Linked DNA regions of Homo sapiens: region 1 is linked to region 2. The links are contacts of gene promoters, found by promoter capture Hi-C in human tissues and cell types (Jung and others, 2019). All regions are on one chromosome and are shown on one strand. The core of a region is centred on a gene start or on the middle of the fragment in contact, and the rest is flanking DNA. Distances in the headings are between cores, read along the strand shown.

Evidence for each region. Contacts are between HindIII fragments. The study calls those that stand out against the background at their distance.
Region 1: a fragment that was not itself captured here is called in contact with the fragment with the promoter of PDCD6 in region 2 in 4 of the 25 tissues and cell types used here (dorsolateral prefrontal cortex, lymphoblastoid cells, mesenchymal stem cells and 1 more).

What each region holds. Positions count from the first base shown.
Region 1 is chr5:655,262-661,866 of GRCh38, reverse strand. It overlaps TPPP (tubulin polymerization promoting protein), which reads left to right. Exons shown (of 4, transcript NM_007030.3): 4 at 1-2,005. It also overlaps a transcript of CEP72 not described here. Among named protein-coding and RNA genes, the nearest start is that of TPPP, 35 kb to the left of the region's middle. The HindIII fragment of the contact is 7,661 bases long and covers 259-6,605 here.
Region 2 is chr5:270,396-276,614 of GRCh38, reverse strand. PDCD6 (programmed cell death 6) reads right to left here and starts at 4,969. Exons shown (of 6, transcript NM_013232.4): 1 at 4,794-4,969; 2 at 3,843-3,904. The coding sequence starts at 4,894. It overlaps PDCD6-DT (PDCD6 divergent transcript), which reads left to right and starts at 5,091. Exons shown (of 2, transcript NR_104613.1): 1 at 5,091-5,270. It overlaps PDCD6-AHRR (PDCD6-AHRR readthrough (NMD candidate)), which reads right to left and starts at 4,969. Exons shown (of 13, transcript NR_165163.2): 1 at 4,794-4,969; 2 at 3,843-3,904. RefSeq lists a silencer at 4,677-4,886 and enhancers at 5,177-5,266, 5,928-6,219. The HindIII fragment of the contact is 6,729 bases long and covers 2,782-6,219 here.

The sequences.
Region 1 (6,605 bases), core at 2,840-5,339, 390 kb before region 2:
GAGCACCCTTCTCCACTCAGCTCCAAAGCGAATCTTTGAAAACACCCACTCGGCTCCCATCTCTGTCACCTAGCCAGGAGGGGTAGCAAAAATAAAGTCACGAGGACATAGTGGTCACCACTGTCAGTTACAACTTGTCTGTGGAATCCGTAATTGCATCTGTGTGCCGCCTCCGAACACAGAACATTGTTTGGACGGCAGCCCCACTGCACATAACAGACCCGTGCATCTTCCTCAGTCAGTTTCTGAATATTGTGAATTCAGGCAGGTGTGTGTTCTCTTCTGCATGTTTTTATGCACTGCCAATTAGCTTCTACTAACCACGGTTCAACAGAAAATAAATGTGTATTTGTGAATAACAAACTGCACAACCTGCAAACCAGGAGAGAGGGACAGGTTCTGTCAGGGGTGACACCAGGACACAGGGACAGGTTCTGTCGGGGGTGACACCAGGACACAGGGACAGGTTCTGTCATGGGTGACACGAGGACACAGGGACAGGTTCTATCATGGGTGACACCAGGAGAGAGGGACAGGTTCTGTTGGGGGTGACAAGAGGAGACAGGGACAGGTTCTGTCGGGGGTGACACCAGGAGAGAGGGACAGGTTCTGTCAGGGGTGACACCAGGAGAGAGGGACAGGTTCTGTTGGGGGTGACACCAGGACACAGGAATAGGTTCTGTCGGGAGGACAGTGCTGATCGTGTCTCAGCATCAGGAAAGGAGAAAGGCAGAGGGAGAGCGCTGAGAAGACTGTTCACGCCAGAGTGCTTATTTATTTTTAATTTACTGCTATAGGATAAGCAACCAGGTAGTGTTCCTAACAATTAGCGTTACCAAAATTAAAGTTCAAATTATATGTTTAAAATATTGTAGAAGATATATATTTATACTGGACTACTTTTACACCTTCTAATATCCTGTCCAAGTTTGGGCGCAGATGGTGGAGTTGGGCTGGCATCATGTCCTGTGGCCGCCCCACTTGCCTGTTGGTGCCACTCCATCCCGGGCCCCAGGGATGCCAGCTCAGGGCTGACCACAGCAGCCCTGCGTGGGCATCACCTCCTACCCCAGCCCCCATCCTGGGCTGCTGCGGCCGCCTGCTTTTGTGAATGGTGTTTTGTTGGCACAGGGCCTGTCCTGTGTTTTCACACAGGCCTGTGGCTCCTGCTGTACAAGTGGAGTGGGGAGGAGTTGAGATGGAGATGCCTTGGCCCTGGACACTTACCTGTCCCTCTACTGGCCCAGCTCATCTCCTCCTGTGGGCAATCACGCGTGCACTGGCCACCCTCCCACCCCACAGCACACACCACGAGGGGATGGCACAGGGGGAAGATGAGGCTGGACCGTGATGTTATCAATAGGCTAGAACGTCCTTCAAACACTGAACCTGCATCTTTCCTCCTCTTACTACTGAACACTTTGTGAGCTCTGGTGGTCCAGGGTGCAGCGTTTGTCCCTGGGCATGTGATGGGGAGTCCTGGGCACATCGAGATGCTTTACTTCTTTCTTTCGACCTCTTAAAAAACTAAACCAAGCCAAACCACAAAGGAAATCTGCACAACTTAAGAGAAACTTGAAAGGGATCGTGTAACTACTAGTTTGTACTAAGTTTTTTTCAAGAAAGGGAAACAAATTTATATATATATATATATATATATATGTGCAATATATTTTTACACTGTGTGATTAACATTAGGGAGTACTGAGTGCATCACTTTATCAGTGTGACGGGTGATGTCCACGTCATGGCTGTTCTGACTCTGAAAGCCACTTCTGCTGATGTCTAAACCGCACTCACCGCGGACGTCCGCGGGGTGGGGTGGCCCTGCTGTTCCTCCTGCAGGTGAGAGGTGTGGTGTTGCCTGTTGGACTTGCTGTTGAGCCTGGCTTGCAAACCTGTAGTGAAACAGCTCGTGTCTGTGTGCACACTGCTCCTGTGTCTGCTGTCGTTAACATTGTGTGTCAAGTTGGTAAAGTGACAAATAAAGGTGTTAAAACATGGATTTCTCTGTTCCTCAGAGCACACGTGTCTGTAACAGGTGATAACAGGGGATAGGTACTGGAGGGGCCCCAGGTGGGGAGTGTGCTGAGTGCCTCCACTGGGCTGAAGCTCACAGGGCCAAGGCCCTTGTGTCGCCTTTTCCCGAGGGAGTCTCTCGCTTCCTCATCTAGACAGGAGGACCGTGAAGGAGGAGCAGGCGGACCAGCCATCTGTCAGGTGTGAGTCCTGCTCTAGCACTGGTGTAGCCCTGGGTGGGGTCTAGATTCAAGGGGAATGGACATGAACACTGTGAACACCACCAGAGCCCCCAAAACAGGACAATGTCATCACAGGCTGCTATAAAAAAAATGCCAACCTGAGATACTAGCCCAGCGAAACAGTTTTCCAAAATGAGGATACAATAAAGGCATTTTTGGACAATGAAAAGAGAATTTGCCACCAGCAGACATTTAAAGAAATTCTAAATGCAGAAAGCAAAGGTGATCTCAAATGGCATGTCTGGTTTGTGAAGAAAGTGGAGCAAAGAGAATAAATAGGTCAATAACTCCAAATTAACAGTGGCTATATCAATACTTTGTGAGATTAAAATGTTTCATAAAAATACTTGGGAACCCCCACAGGTGAGCAGAACAGGAGCATGGAGAGGGACGCGCGCCTCGCGCTCCAGGAACCAACCCCAGAGGTGGGTGAGAGCATGGACTAAACGCACACATGCCATAAGCATGGGACAGAAGCAGAGTACAGTCTCCAAACGAGCAGAGGGACATGCGGGATGACAGGAGATCATCCAAAAGTGGCAAAAGTGAAGAGGGAAAAAACCATGAATAGAACAAACAGCACAAAATGAGATGGCAGATTTAAACTAATGAGATGGTGGATCAATCAGCTTCGCTGAGGCCGGGCGCGGTGGCTCACACCTGTAGTCCCAGCACTTTGGGAGGCCGAGGCGGGCAGATCACAAGGTCAGGAGATTGAGACCATCCTGGCTAACACAGTGAAACCCTGTCTCTGCTAAAAATACAAAAAATTAGCCAGGCGTGGTGGCGGGCGCCTGTAGTCCCAGCTACTCGGGAGGCTGAGGCAGGAGAATGGCGTGAACCCGGGAGGCGGAGCTTGCAGTGAGCCGAGATCACGCCACTGCACTCCAGCCTGGGCAATAGAGCGAGACTCCATCTCAAAAAAAAAAAAAAAAAAAAAAAAAAAAAAAAAAAAAAAAATCAGCTTTGCTGATAAAACAAGAGAAAGAAACACAGAACAGGGAAATTGATAAAATAATATTTTAACCCATATTTATTTGTAATTTCAGCATGGCTAATGATAGATCAGATCAGAAATTGAAAAGAAAATGGAGGCAAAGGGTGTTTCTTTGAAAGGACTGAAGAGAAAGTTCAAATAACGAATATGAAGAATGGCCAAGAATGGGCTGAGTCCCCGGGAGGCAGATGCTGAGGTGGCCTTTGTATCACAAGAGGCTCACTGGTGAGGAATGCCCCTGAACAGCAGCAAGGGGAGGAGGCCGGGAGGCCTCAGGGAGGCTCTGGAGATGACCTGCTAGGGAGCTCCCTGTGGTTCGCATTAGGCCCAGGCCCTGCCTGCTTGGACACTGGCTGCAGCTGCCTGGATGAGTGTGTCCTCAGCTCCAGAGCCCAGGCACAGCCTGACAGCATGGTGGCTGGAGATGGTCTCTACCCCTGTACTCCCTGCCCCTGGATGGCAAGGTCTCGCTTGAAGGGACACAACTGTCCCTACATCTCTGCCACAGGGACACACACAACTTCAAATGTTGAAGCCATTCAAATTATGTGTGTTATACCCCCCAAAATGGAAAATTAAGACAATATGGACCAATTCTTAGAGACACATAACTTACAAAAACTAACTCGAAAAGAAATGGAAAGCCTGCTCAGCCCTGTGACTTAGGGGAAGTCACTGCCAGCTACAAAAGAAAACCCCTAACACTTCAGTGGCTGGACACACAAAATGTATTACTCACACAACGTCCAACTTCAGGAATAACAAGAGATCTCTTCTAACAGAAGACAAACAGACTTCCTAATCCTGTGATGCAGCTGCCCAGGTCACTGGCAGGGAAGCTATCACAGTGACGCACCAGCTCCCGCTGCTCTGGCCCTGAAATGACTCACCTCAGTCCCACACACAGGCTGTTGCTCAGTAGTCACACGGCCCCAGCCCAACTCAGGGATATGCAGCGTAAAGGCAGGGGGGACATAAGGATGGTCTGTGTGAACGGTTCTGCCACATCCTGGAACACTGAGTTATACTGGATCAGTAGTCAAACCTCCTGACAAAGAAAGTTCCAGGCACAAGTGACTTCACCAGCAAGTTCCATCAAACATCCATGGAAGAAATAATTATAATCTTAAGTAAATTCTCCTAGAGAATGGAGAAAGAATACACAACCTAGCTCATTTTACGGTGGTGTAAAGATGCGAATCCTTTCAAGAACAGCATTACAAAGGAAAATCGTAAGTGGCTGTCACCCGTGAAGAGAGATACTAACCACTGTACTAGAGCACGCAGCTACCCAGTGCTCAGGACGCACCAGATGCTGCCCGAGAGTCTTATTCATACTAACTCATTTCACCTTCACAACAATCCTGTGAGGAAGCCACTATTTCCCCATTGTACAGACGAGGAAATCAGGGCCCAAACACAGGTGCTAGGTAGTATAGCTGGGCCACAAAATGCTAAACAAAATATTAACAAACCAAATATAACAATATGTATGTAAAAGAAAATCCATAATTATTAAGTTGGACTTATCTCAGAAATTCAAGGTTTATTTTTAACAAAAGCAAATTATGGTCGTTAAACACATCAATATATTAAATGATAAAAATCATGGTCATCTCCATCACTGCAGAAAAAGTGATAAAAGTCATCCATTCTTGAGGCGAATTATTGATAGAAGAAGCTTTAAAACAAGCAAAAAAAATCCATTACAAGTGAGTGGATAAATGGTGAGAATTTATCACCCCTTTGAATATCAGGAAGAAGACAACGATGCCCACTCTGTTACCACCTCTAATCAGCACTGCACTAGGGGTTCCGACCAGTGTAGAAAAGCAAAAAACAAAACAAAAATAAAAACATAAAGTAAAAATCCAGAACAACAGGAATGGGAAAGAAAACCCATTACTCATAGAAAACATGACTGTGTGCCTAAAAATGAGGAAACAGCTACAGGCAAATGATTAAAATTACTAGACTGCCGGATACAAATTAATACACAAAAATGAATTTCCATGAAATGGCAACACATAATTAGGAAAATGAAATCCAAGCACATTTTTAAAAACAGCATCGCAAAATAACAAGGACCTAGGATTAAATGTAACAAAAGACATACAAGACCACTGTGAAAAGTATCAGGCTGTATGAACACCCGCTGAAGGAGCCCTAACATTTGGAGAGACAGATACCATGTTCAGAGCTTGTAAAACCCAGTACTGCAAGTACGTCAATGATTCCCAAGTTGATCTACAGGTTCAACACAATCCCAAACAAAATCCCAACTCGACCGGCTAGTTCTAAAATGTATGAAACACAAAGGGTCAAAAACAGCCAAGACATCCTAACATAAGATGGAGGTACGCGCCCCAGAGTGTGTGGTATTGGCAGAGACAGACAAGGAGATGCAGAAACGGACACAGAGATCATCCTGACAAAGGAATCTTCAGCAGCCGGGACTGGGAAAACTGGGCTTATGTCTGCAACACAATGAAACTGGATCCTTAAGCTTCACAACAGGCGCAAAAATCAATTCTGGGTAGAATCTATATCTAAAATCCAAAATATACAAAACTATAAAATCCTTTGGAAGGTAACAGAGTATCTTTATGATCAAGGCAAAGTAAAGATTATTAAAAATTAGGATCCAAAATGCTTTAATCATAAAAGAAAATATTGATACATTGGGCCATATTAAAGTTTAAAATTTCTCTTAAAAGACACCATTGAAGTAAAAAGACAAGAAAAGCTATTTGCAAATGTAATTCACAAAGCACTACTACCCAGAATCATAAATAACACCTGCAAATAAATGAGACAGACCATCCAATAGAAAAGTAGGGAAAATACTTGAATAGGTACTTTACAAACAGGAAATCCCAATGAGCCGCAGACACATGAGAAGGTGCTGAACAAGGAGAAGCCAATGAAACCAGAAAGAGGTCTACCCCACACGTTCCACCACCCCGCGCCCTCCGCCACCCCGCGCCCTCCACCACCCCACTCCCTCCACTACCCCACACCCACCGGAGTGAAGGTGCTAACACTTCAGGCAATGGGTGCTGAAAACATGGACCGGCAGACGTGGTCATACACAACTAGCAGTCGGGCCTGCGGGTACCACCACTTTGGAACAGTTGGGAATTTCTAGTAAACCTGTTAAAAACATGGTTAAGCAGTTAATGGAAACGTGAACATAATGGGATATAAAACTAATGAAAAAAATCAAATGGAGTTTTTTTGTTTTTTTTTTGAGACGGAGTCTTGCTCTGTCGTCTAGGCTGGAGTGCAGTGCTGCAATCTTGGCTCACTGCAACCTCCGCCTCCCAGGTTCAAACGATTCTCCTGCC
Region 2 (6,219 bases), core at 3,720-6,219:
TTATTATAGAAATCAAACTAATTTCAATCATATTAGTATAGGAATTCATATTAGTATAGGCTGAGGCAGGAGGATCACTTGAGCCTAGGAGTTTGAGACCAGCCTGAGCAAGACAGTGAGACTCCATCTCTAATTTTTTTCTTAAAATAAAGAAATTCAGAGAGAAGAAGGAAGAGGATATGTGTTTATCCAAGGACAAATTTTGTGTGCCTGTACATACAACACAACTATGAACCTTCCTTCACGCAGCTCACAACCTAGTAGTGAGAGGGAACTATGAAAACGTGAGCCCCCACGATGAGGAAAAAGGTGCATATCAGAGAAAAGAAAAATGCTGCGATGATCCAATGGCAGGAGCAGCGCGCATCCACTTTCTTTGTTTTTTTGAGATGGGGTTTCGCTCTGTCTCCCAGGCTGGAGTGCCGTGGCTTGATCTCAGCTCAATGCAGCCTCAACCTCCCAGGCTCAAGTGATCTTCCCATCTCAGCCTCCCAAGTAGCTGGGAATACAGGCGTGCACCACTACACTCATTTACTTTTTGTAGAAACAGGGTCTCACAATGTTGCCAAGGCTGGCATCCTGAAGGGCGGGTGGGGCTTCATCCTACAGAGATGAAAGGCAGAAGAAGCTTAGAGCCCAAAGCAAAGGGGTGGAGGACAAGGGCATCTTCAGAACAGAGTGGCTCGGCTGAGACATCCAGTAGGATGCCACCAGGCAGAGGTGTGGTGGAAAAACACAGGGCCACGGTGAATGCTCACATGTGAGGAGCAAACCACCACAGAACACAACAGAAACACGGTGTACTAAATCAGGCTTCAAATCGCAGCCCTGCAACTTGAGAGCTACCACAGGTAACCCGGAAAGGGAGCACCGACAGCAATGCCCACTGCCTGAGGCTGTGAGATGGACCAGAAACCTGTGCTTACTAACAACCTGCCTTATTCCAGAAGGAATTCAGGAAACACAGAGACACTCACGGTACAGCAAAATAAAGTAAATGTGAATCATATTGGTTGAGAAGAAAGTGAAGAGTCTAAGACTATGTCATAAAGTTTACTTCTACTCTAAACTCTCATTACTGGTGAGCCACCAACCTGACTTTAAATTTTCTAGCAGCTAAATTGAAGAGGAAAATGTCATCAGGTAAACGTTTATAAGATGCAAACAAAACAGAACGGCCACCACAGTTTCTGAGAACACGCGCAGCTCCAGGAGAAATGGGGTGGCCATTTCCTGGGGCTGCCCCGCAGCAGGTGTGTGAGCCCGAAAGCCAGCGTCTCTCAGGGTGAACAGTGACTACGGGCTTCATGGGGCCACATGCCCCCAGCACAAGCTGAGGAAATCTCCCAGGGCAATTCAGGCAACAGGGTCTCACAGTGTCGCCCAGGCTGGTCTCAAACTCCTGGGCTCAAGGGATCCCCCTGCCTCGGCCTCCCAAAGTGTTGGGAGGTCAGGCGTGAGCCACTGCACCTGGCCCTGCACTCACATTAGAGAAGAGGGCTTTGCATCCTGAAGGGCGGTGGGGCTTCATCCCACAGAGATGAAAGGCAGAGGAAGCTCAGAGCCCAAGGTAAAGGGGGGCGCCTAAGAAAAGTGACTCCATTGGGACCACGGTGAGAGGGTCCCGATACACAGCTTGGGTTAAGCCACTGATTTCAAAGTATCTCAGGAATGGTGGACTCAGCACCCATCAGGCAATTCTCTCAAGCAGTCTCCTGGTAGATATTTAGTAGCAGCTGAAATCAAGATTATGTTCTGATAGACACTTGCTGATGGTTAAAGAGCTATATACACTTTGAGGACCAGCTGAACTGGGGCAGGACTAACTCCCTCTGGTGAAAATACAGGAACCCAAACACACAAGTCAGAGCAGGAGGTGTCTCCCCCACCCCCAAACAATAATGCTGACCTTGGATTTGGGTTAAGTGCCTAGCCCAGCGTGTGAGTGTTGAGTAAGTGGAAACCATCATCACCATCATCAGGTAATGGAAAACCATCAAAGCTTTGAGCTGGCTTGTTAGCCAAGAATAGTACCAGTGTATTAGCTACTACTAATACTCACAGCTGACAATTACTGAGCACTTGCTCCGTGCCAGGAATCACGGAAACACCTCGCATGCATTTCCTCAATACTCCCTCCCAGTAACGGCGAGGACACAAAACTGGTAGAGCCAGGACTGGAATCCAGGCAGGCCCCAAAGCACTCCAGTGGAGCCTGCCAAGGTGGGCAGGCTACCATACTAATGCGGTCCAGTATTTGACCACCACTCCTATTTGAGCAAGTTTAACAGAAAACCTAAAACTAAACCTAAAATCTAAAAATTAGAGCAAATGCATAAAAAGCAGGCTGTTAAAATGGATCATAAATCTTGCATCACTCATTGGAAAACCACTCAAAATAAATGTCTCTGAAACATGGCCTCTGAGGAGGGCACTCCGTGTGGCTTGTATCACCCTGGTGACAAACCACTTGAACCTGGATGGTCATCTGACCATATTTAACAGGTGATGCACAGAGCCATTTGCATCCACTGTGGTCAACATTTAGGAAGTTTTAAGCTGAGATTTGCCAAATTGTAGCCTACTGGATTCCGGGTTCTCTTGACATCTCTTTCTAGTAGCCACGTCTTGCACTTCCCGAGTAAAAACGAACTGAGATGCAAATAAAAAAAAAAAAAACGAGGATTTAAGAATAATGAAAAGAGAAAAACCAAGAAAGCACAATCACTAGTGTAGAGATAACAGCATTTCTGAATTCCCTGAAAACAATCTATAGAAATGCATGTGAAATAATACACCAGCATCTGTGGCCCACACGCCACATATTAGGAACTGATGTCGTAATATAAGGTAAAAATGTTACTCTGAAAACACAAATCCTCACAAATCATTAGGCAGTAAGGCTGAATCCAGCACCCCCCCACCCACAGCGCAGTGAGGCAGTGTCTAGCAGCCGTAGTGCTCCCCGCGCCCCAGTTCAGTCTCTGGCAACTTCAGATACTTCCCACTAATAACAAGAAGCCTTTCAACATTTTCACAACATCTCAAAACTGACCCCTTTTCTAGCTTAAATGGCACGGATCTGGAAAAGCAAACTATACACAGAATCAGAAAAGATGACTGCCCCTGAGGGATTACAGAAAAAGTGGCAGTCAGGTTTCAATGAAGTAAAATGTGTCCAATGATAGCGGAGGGGAGGGGGATCAACTGAGCTGAAACTGGCAAGAACGTAATTCCAGGGAGCTCACAACACGCAAGGACCCGGATTTCCCGCTGCCTGAACGCCCAGTATTCGCACACTGATAAGAACACCTCCCCATAATCCCCTGGCCAGCGCCTCCAACACCCCCAATCCTTTCCCCAGGAACCCAGTCCCAGTTTCTGCAGTTCCTGTAACAGCCACATTCCCATACAAGGGCTGCCTGAGCTCCCCAAGCCCTCCAACAATCACCCCCCAGTGCCCTCGAAGGTCTATTCAGAGAAGTCACCAAGATGCAGTCACCCAGGAAATTCAAGGACCTCCAACTTACCAAAAGGCTTTCGGCTGTACAGAGCTAAGCTTCCTATTCCCCTCCTAAACCTACAATCTAGTTTTCATTTCTCAAGAAGCCTTTCCCTGTGCTCACGCACGCAGTTGTTAGCTGGCTCGGTGAGGCACTCCAAGCAGTAACAGCGGTAGCCACAAAATAAACCAGAAGCATCTCCACTACGAAGCAGTAATAACAATTTGTCCTAATGATTCCTTTGTCCTTGGAAAAACAACTTCAGAAAGTTATCCACTGTGAACAGGGCAGGCTCGCGGCTTCTTGGTCCGGAGACCCAGTTCCCACTGGCCCACTCACCGTTGGAGAGAGCTTGCTGAAGCTCGGTGTCTGATATCACTCCACTCCTGTCTTTATCGACCCTATAACATCAAGAAGACCAAATAAGCTGGCGATCGAAAGTTCAGGAAAAGCAAAACAAACGTCTTCTGTCAACCCTGCACCGACTCTGGAAGGCTCCCTCCTGGAACCTCCGCCTCTCCCGTCCCGCTGAGGAGTACAGCGGAATCAAGGAAGTGCCCCAGGAGCCGACGTCCAGTGTGGTCTTCCCCTAAGAGGACAATCATCTTCACCTCAATCCTTCCCTTCCTTCCTCTCCTGGCCTGTCTGAATTCCCATTTGCACCCGTTTCCCTTTTTCACAGACAAGACAAGATTCCCTCAGATAACTAAGCCATTCCCTGGCCATCAGTCACTACAGTTTCGGACATTCGGTGGAAAAGCGACCAGGGACAGAAGGCGCCGCCATAAAGGTCACCTGGCCCGAGCAGACGCCAGGTCGCTGCTTCTTCCTTGGCTGCTGACATTTTAACAGCGCCCAGGCAGTCTGTTTCCGCTTTCCCCAAACAAGCACCCTGGAGACCCTCCACCTGGCGGCTCTTGAGGCGAGAAAAAGGGCCTAGCCCAGGAGCCGGTGGCCGCGACCTCGGGTCTGCAGTGGCGCACTCTGCATCTTGGGAAGGGCCCGACGCACAGGACAGGGACCGGGCAGGAGGCAGGGGCGGCCCCAGGAGACCGGGCAGCGGACGGGGGAGACCGCGGGGGACCCGCCAGGGGACGGGGGCGGCCGCGTCGGCTGGGGCAGGGGTCGGGGGCGGCGGCAGGGGACGGGAGGGGGCCGCGGGGGACCCGACAGGGGACGGAGGAGGCCGCAGTAGAACCGGCAGGGAACGGGGTTGGTCGGGGGAGTCGGGACAGGGGTCGGGGCCGCCGCGGCGGAGGCGGGAGGTGCCCGGGCGGTGCCAGGCCGCACCTCTGGAAAACGTTCCACAGGAAGCTCTGGTCCGGCAGCGCCGCGCCTGCAGCAGGCCCAGGGCCGGCCCCAGGGCCGGGGCGGTAAGAGTAGGCGGCCATGGGCCAAGGCACGCGGCTGGGCTGAGGCGCCTGCAGCGACGAGAGACCTCTCAGGCCGACTCCGCTTCCGCCTCTGCCGGGGGCAGGGCCTGGCATTATCACCACTTCCGGGGGCGCAGGAAATGCGTGGTCTCCGGGATGGTCACGGGGTCCCGCGCAGCCAATCCCCTCGCAGCTAAGTTGCCAGGCAACGCCCTGGCGCCTGCGGGGAGGGCGGGGTCTGGGCGCCTGGAGGAAGCCAGAGCTTTGGCGCAGGCCGCCTGCGCGCTGTGCCAGGAAAGCGCTTGGAGAAAATGTCCGGCCCCGCGACCTGGGACAGGAAGTGATGGAGCACGGACTTAGTTTGCCTTTCAGTTCTTGTATAAATAGTTTTGAGGTGAATGTGATTTGCTAACAGTCGGAAACTCTGGGCGGGGCGCGGTAGCTCACACCTGTGATCCCTGCCCTTTGGGAGGCGGAGGCGGGCGGAGCTCTTGAGCCCAGCAGTTCGGACCAGCCTGGGCAGCATGGATAGACCCCATCCCTACAAAAATTACAAAAAGTAGTCGGGCGTGGTGGGCTCCTGTGGTCCCATCTACTCCGTGGGCTGAGGCGGGAGGATTGCCTGAGCCCGGGAGGTCAAGGCCGCAGGGAGCCGAGCTCACTGCACTACAGGGGTGGACAGCGAGACTCTGCCAAAAAAAAAAAAAAAAAAAAGAAAGCAAAAGCAGGCCGGGCGCGGTGGCTCACGCCTGTAATCCCAGCACTTTGGGAGGCCAAGGCCAGTGGATTACCTGAAGTCGGGAGTTCGAGACCAGCCTTGGCCAATTGGGAGACACCCCGTATCTACTAAAAATACAAAACTAACCGGGCGTGATGGTGCACACCTGTAATCCCAGCTACTCGGGAGGCTGAGGCAGGAGAATTGCTTGAAACCGGGAGGAGGAGGTTGCAGTGATCCGAGATCGGGCCATTGCACTCCAGGCCTGGGCAACAAGTGCAAAACTCTGTCTCAAAAAAAAAAAAAAAAAAAAGTCAAAACACAATTCGGGTGGGAAAGGCAGTGTGCAGCATTCTCGGTTGTCTGTTCCGCCCCCAAAAGCTTCCCTCCTTTAGGTTTAACCTGCGCCCCCGTGCTCTGCATCAGCGCGGCCCCTGACCCCGTGCAGCTGGAAACACTGCTGGGCCCCTTCACACCCCTGCCTGCTGGGCCCCTTCACACCCCGGTGGTGGTGCAGCCCTGCCTCCCGCAAGACAGCACTGCCTTCGTGCTGGACACAGTTCTAAGGTGGAGCCTGGAGTGCCTGTAGCACAAATCCCGGAATTGGGAAGTGCCCAGCTTTGGG